2 separate regions of the Homo sapiens genome follow, and region 2 is linked to region 1. The links are contacts of gene promoters, found by promoter capture Hi-C in human tissues and cell types (Jung and others, 2019). All regions are on one chromosome and are shown on one strand. The core of a region is centred on a gene start or on the middle of the fragment in contact, and the rest is flanking DNA. Distances in the headings are between cores, read along the strand shown.

Evidence for each region. The method cuts DNA at HindIII sites, captures the fragments that hold promoters and counts their contacts. A contact is called where the count stands out against the background at its distance.
Region 2: a contact is called between a fragment that was not itself captured here and the fragment with the promoter of SMAD2 in region 1, in 1 of the 25 tissues and cell types used here (hippocampus).

Annotation. Positions count from the first base shown.
Region 1 is chr18:47,929,288-47,932,079 of GRCh38, reverse strand. It overlaps SMAD2 (SMAD family member 2), which reads left to right and starts at 1,421. Exons shown (of 11, transcript NM_005901.6): 1 at 1,421-1,719. RefSeq lists silencers at 503-1,432, 1,463-1,992. The HindIII fragment of the contact is 9,095 bases long and covers 1-2,792 here.
Region 2 is chr18:49,428,086-49,430,877 of GRCh38, reverse strand. DYM (dymeclin) reads left to right here. Exons shown (of 18, transcript NM_001353214.3): 2 at 431-623. The coding sequence starts at 484. Among named protein-coding and RNA genes, the nearest start is that of DYM, 31 kb to the left of the region's middle. The HindIII fragment of the contact is 7,598 bases long and covers 1-2,792 here.

The DNA.
Region 1 (2,792 bases), core at 172-2,671:
CGGTACTCCCTGCCTGTGTCACAGTGGGTGCATAGTAAACACCTGATGTGATTAGTTGGGCTCAATATTTTGTCAGCAGAGGCTTGGGTGTTCCTAAGGGTAACCGCAACAAGGTTTTCCCTGGGTGCAGTTATGTTCTGGGCAGCCGTAAGTTTAGGGCCTTGCTGCCTCCTGTAGGGCAGATGTGCAAGTTGGGGCCTAATCGTCGCAACAGTGGAGAAAAGGGGAAGGGAAGATATCCCAGCCATTAAGGGACATCGTGACAGATGTTTCTTTTAGACTTCACAAAGACCCTTCGGGACATGGATTATTGATATCATTTTTACTGAAGACGGAACCAAAATTTAGGTTAAACACTTATACCTGGCATCCCCTACCCGGGCCCTAAGTGCTCTCCAAAGACCCCACCTCTGGGCTTATTTACATCGCGAACCCGCCCTCGTTCAGCAACACGAGGGCCCCGCCCGCTCATTTGCATAGGGCGCGCCCAGTCACGGGCCGGGTCCTCGGGCTTCTCCCGAACCCCTTTTCTCTCTCAGGCGCGTCCTCCGCGCTGCGCGGGGCCTCCCCGTGGGATGAGCACGTGTCCGCTGCCGGCCTCACGACGGACGGTGGACGAGGCGGCAGGCCCCTACAGGCCCCACCCACGACGCTGGCGAGGGATCGGGCGGTCACCGGGAATCGTCTTAATGCGCGGCAAGGCGCGGGCCTCTCCCTCTCCGCCCGTGAGCCCCGGTGGGAGCGCGCCGGCGCCCAACTCAAGCGAAACCGCGGGCGTCCCGCCCCGCCCGGCCGCGCCCCGCCTCGCCTCACGCTAGACTGGGGAGGCGGGACCAATCAGCGAGCGACGTCTCCCTTCCGATTCGAGGCCCCCGATGCGCGGCTCACACCCCGAGCTTCCCTCGTGCTGATTGGCTGCGGGCGCCGCCGGTCCGGCCGGGAGGCGGGGCGGGCCGTAGGCAAAGGGAGGTGGGGAGGCGGTGGCCGGCGACTCCCCGCGCCCCGCTCGCCCCCCGGCCCTTCCCGCGGTGCTCGGCCTCGTTCCTTTCCTCCTCCGCTCCCTCCGTCTTCCATACCCGCCCCGCGCGGCTTTCGGCCGGCGTGCCTCGCGCCCTAACGGGCGGCTGGAGGCGCCAATCAGCGGGCGGCAGGGTGCCAGCCCCGGGGCTGCGCCGGCGAATCGGCGGGGCCCGCGGCCCAGGGTGGCAGGCGGGTCTACCCGCGCGGCCGCGGCGGCGGAGAAGCAGCTCGCCAGCCAGCAGCCCGCCAGCCGCCGGGAGGTGGGTGCGTGGCGCCGCGGCGGCCGGCGGCCGAGGGCGGAGGGCGGAAGCGGAGGTGGGCTGGCGGGGGAGGGCGCGGCCGTGCGGGCGGCCGGTAGGGCTGCGGGCGCGCGCCTGAGGGGAGGAGGGGCAGCGCGGGCGCGCGCGTCCTCACCCCCTCCTTCCCCGCGGGCGGCGGCCAGGCTCCCTCCCCTCCCCTTCCCTCTCCTCCCCTCCCCTCCCCTCTCTTCCCCTACCCTCCCGCGCGCCCGGGCCGCCGGCCGGGCCCGGGCCTGGGGGCGGGGCGGGAAGACGGCGGCCGGGAGTGTTTTCAGTTCCGCCTCCAATCGCCCATTCCCCTCTTCCCCTCCCAGCCCCCTCCATCCCATCGGAAGAGGAAGGAACAAAAGGTCCCGGACCCCCCGGATCTGACGGGGCGGGACCTGGCGCCACCTTGCAGGTAAAGCCTGGGCGCCCGCGGGCCTCCAGCTAGGGAAGTGTTTGCGTGCGTCCGCGGCCGGGGCGATGGGCCGTGTCACATGGCCGCTGCGGGTGGGGGCTGGGGTGTGGTGAGTTCGGGGGCTGTGGGTGCGCCGGCCCGGGCGTGCGGGTTCGGGGCCGGAGAGCCGGGAAGGGACGGGGCTCGGTTGCACTGCGCTGCCGCCCAGGCTGACGGGGGCGGGGGCTGCCTGCGTCCCTTCCCCTCGCTGCTCTCACACTCCATAGTTTGTGGTTCTGATTTTTAAAGCCGAAGGGCCAGAGCTCTTGTTTCAGGAGTTGTGGGGAAGCCTTGTTAGGGACGCGTAATACTTTGCCTCCACTTTTTTTTTTTGGTCTCGTAACCTTTGTTAACAGTGGTAGTCTCGGGTTTTCCATGGCTTGTGTGTACTCACAAACACGCACACAGCTGATAACTCTGTGATCATCCTTCACTCACTTGTGAAAGTTGTTCTGCGGGTGGAGCCTATTAGTTTTTATCACACGCCTTTGGAAAGCCCTCGAAGTGATTTCTCGTATTTCAAACTTGGTTTTTAAAATTGCAACTTACTTTGTTCTCTTGGAGGGGGATATTGTCTTTGGGTCAGGTACTTTTGTCTTTTACTTATCCTTAAAATGTCCTTTTGATCCTAAACAGAAAAAGAATGCCTGGGTTGGTTTTGTTATTCCTTTCTCTTGACCCTTTAAAAGCAAAATACCACCAGTGTGTTGTCAACCATACCTTTAAAAAAGAAATTTCCAGGTAAAACGAATTTGCAAGCAGCATTTTCCATCAAAGTCATGTCTTGTTTGTTGCAATTTGGACTATCTTAAATTTGGGTTTGTGAAACTTTTAAAACGACATGTGTAAAATAATTGTTAATAAATAAATAACTTGGAATAATTACATCTTTTTAGAAATGGTCTTTGAAATGTGATTTAATTTCCAAAATTCTTTTTCTCTCTTCTGACTTCATATGAATTGAACCTGATAGTTTCGTATGAATGAATCGCTGATAGGATGTTTTCCTTGAGCCTAGTAATAAATTTGCTCTT
Region 2 (2,792 bases), core at 133-2,632, 1.5 Mb before region 1:
GAGTCTTGCTCTGTCGCCAGGCTGGAGTGCAGTGGCGCGATCTTGGCCCACTGCAACTTCTGCCTCCTGGGTTCATGTGATTCTCTTGCCTCAGCCTCTTGAGTAGCTGGGACTACGGGTGCGTGCCACCACGCCCAGCTAAGTTTTGTATTTTTAGTAGAGACGGGGTTTCACCGTGTTGGCCAGGATGGTCTCAATCTCTTGACCTCATGATCTGCCCGCCTCAGCCTCCCAAAGTGTTGGGATTACAGGCGTGAGTCACCATGCCTGGCCTAGCCCCATATTTCTTGTAACTTTGTATCTGATGTCTAATATATTTATAAATACAGAAATGTGTGATTTTCTTTAGTAAGTTTATAGTTTTTTTATAGGTAGACAAAGCATGATGACTTTTGAACAAGTTTAAAGTTTTTATTTTTATTTTTTATAGGTTGTCTTTTGGAAATGCAGGTTTAAGGACAAATTATCTGCTTAAGCTAGAAGATGGGATCGAATAGCAGCAGAATCGGCGATCTTCCTAAAAATGAGTACTTGAAAAAGTTATCAGGCACGGAATCTATCTCTGAGAATGACCCGTTCTGGAATCAGCTTCTCTCATTTTCTTTCCCTGCACCAACTAGCAGGTAAGAGATTGCCTGGAGATTGAAAATTTGAATAGAGGGCCATATCAACTTGTGTGGTATGCTGATTAAAAAAAAATTTAGAAATGTTCTGTCTATCTATCTAGTCTATCTGTCATACATAGATCAGTAGAAAATCCAAAAGATTTGAAAGTAGAAAATAAGCTTTTCTTTTTACCCAACTCAGTAGCCACCTCCCTTCTCTAGAGGTTATCACTGGTAGCAGTTTATTTTGAATCGTTCTAGAGATAATATAGGTTACTTAAGCATATATCCCATATAGTTTCACAAAATTGTTTAAATACAAATGGTAGCATACTACACGTACTGTTCTGTCCCTTGCCTTTTTTTCCACAGTTAAGTAAAATATATCTTGTATATGTAGCACATTTGCAACTTCCTTATTCTTTTTAATGGCTGTGGAGTATCTGTAGAATATATTTAATTGGTTTTTCTGTTGATGAACATTTAGATTGTTTCCAGTCTTTGTTGTAACAGTTACTGCCGCATACATCATTTTTCATACACACAATATATCTTTAGTATAAATTCCTTGAAGTAGAATTGCTGGGTCAAAGTGTATGTGCATTTGCAATTTGGTAGCTATGCCAAATTGTGCACCATGGAAGTTGTAGCAATTTGCATACCTACCAGCAATGCATGAGAGGTGTGTTTCCCCATATCTTTGTCAGTTTGATGCATTTTAGACCTTTGACCTCTGCCAGTTTCAGAGGTGAAAAATAATATCTCATATTTAATTCTATTACAAAAACTGTCAGACAATAATAATGAAGAATGAATAGAATATTGAATTCCCATACACTCAATAACTAGATTTAAAAATTTTTTATTTACTTTTTAAGAGCTTTATTATGATAGGCAGAATAGTAGCCCCCCAAAGATGTCCATGTCCTTGTCTGCAGAATCTGAATATGTTACATTACATGGCAAAGGGGAATTAAAGTAGCAAAAGGCATTAAGGTTACTAATCAGCTGACCTTAAAACAGGGAGATTATCTTGGATTATCTGGGCAGGCCCAAAGTAATCACAAGGCTTCTTGAAAGTGGAAGAGGGAGGTAGAAGAGAAAGTCAGATGTGATGTGAGGAGGACTCAGCCTGCCCTTGCTGGCTTTGAAGATGGTAGGGAGGTCATGAGCAAGAAATATGAGCAGCTTCTAGAAGCTGGCAGAGGCAAGGATGCAGATTTCCCTCTAGAGCCTTTGGAAAGGGATGCAGCCTTATTGACATCCTGATCTTAGCTCATTGAGTGTCAGACTTCTGACCTACAGAACTGTAAGATAATAAATTTATGTTGTTCACACCACTAAATTTTGATAACTTTTGTAGTAGCAATAGAAAAATAATACACTTTTTGAGATATGTTTCATATATCATGTAATTCACCCATTTAAAGTGTATTATTCAGTGTTTTTATTCACAGAATTGTGTAACAATCACCAATTTTAGAACATTATCATCCCAGAAAGGAACCATCCCATGCCCTATCCCATGCCCATTAGCAGACACTCCCCCAAACTCTAGATTGCACTAGCAACCACTTATTTATTTATTTATTTTTTGAGAGGGAGTCTCAGTCTGCTAGAGTTCAGTGGCGCGATCTCTGCTCACTGCAAACTCTGCCTCCTGGATTCAAGCAATTCTTCGGCCTCAGCCTCCCGAGTAACTGGGCTTAACGGTTGCATGCCTTCATGCATGGCTAATTTTTGTATTTTTTGTGGAGATGAGATGTCACCATGTTGGCCAGGCTGGTCTCGAACCCCTGACCTCAAGTGATTCACCTTCCTCAGCCTCCCAAAGTGCTGGGATTACAGGCGTGAGACACTGCGTCCAGCCACTAATTTAATAACTACTACTAACTTTGCCTCTTCTAGACGTTTCATGTAAATGAAATTGTAACAATAGGTGGTCTTTTGTGACTGGCTTCTTTCTTTTTTTTTCTTCTACCTTTTTAGAGATGGGGTCTTGCTCTGTTACCCAGGCTGGTCTTGAACTCCTGGGCTCAAGAAATCCTCAGCACCCCAAAGTGCTGGGATTACAAGTGTGAGCCACTGCGCCCCGCCGTGACTGGCTTCTTTCACTGAATGTAATATTCATACATGTTGTAGCATGCACCAATACTTGCATTCCTTTTTTTCTTTTTTTTTTGAGAC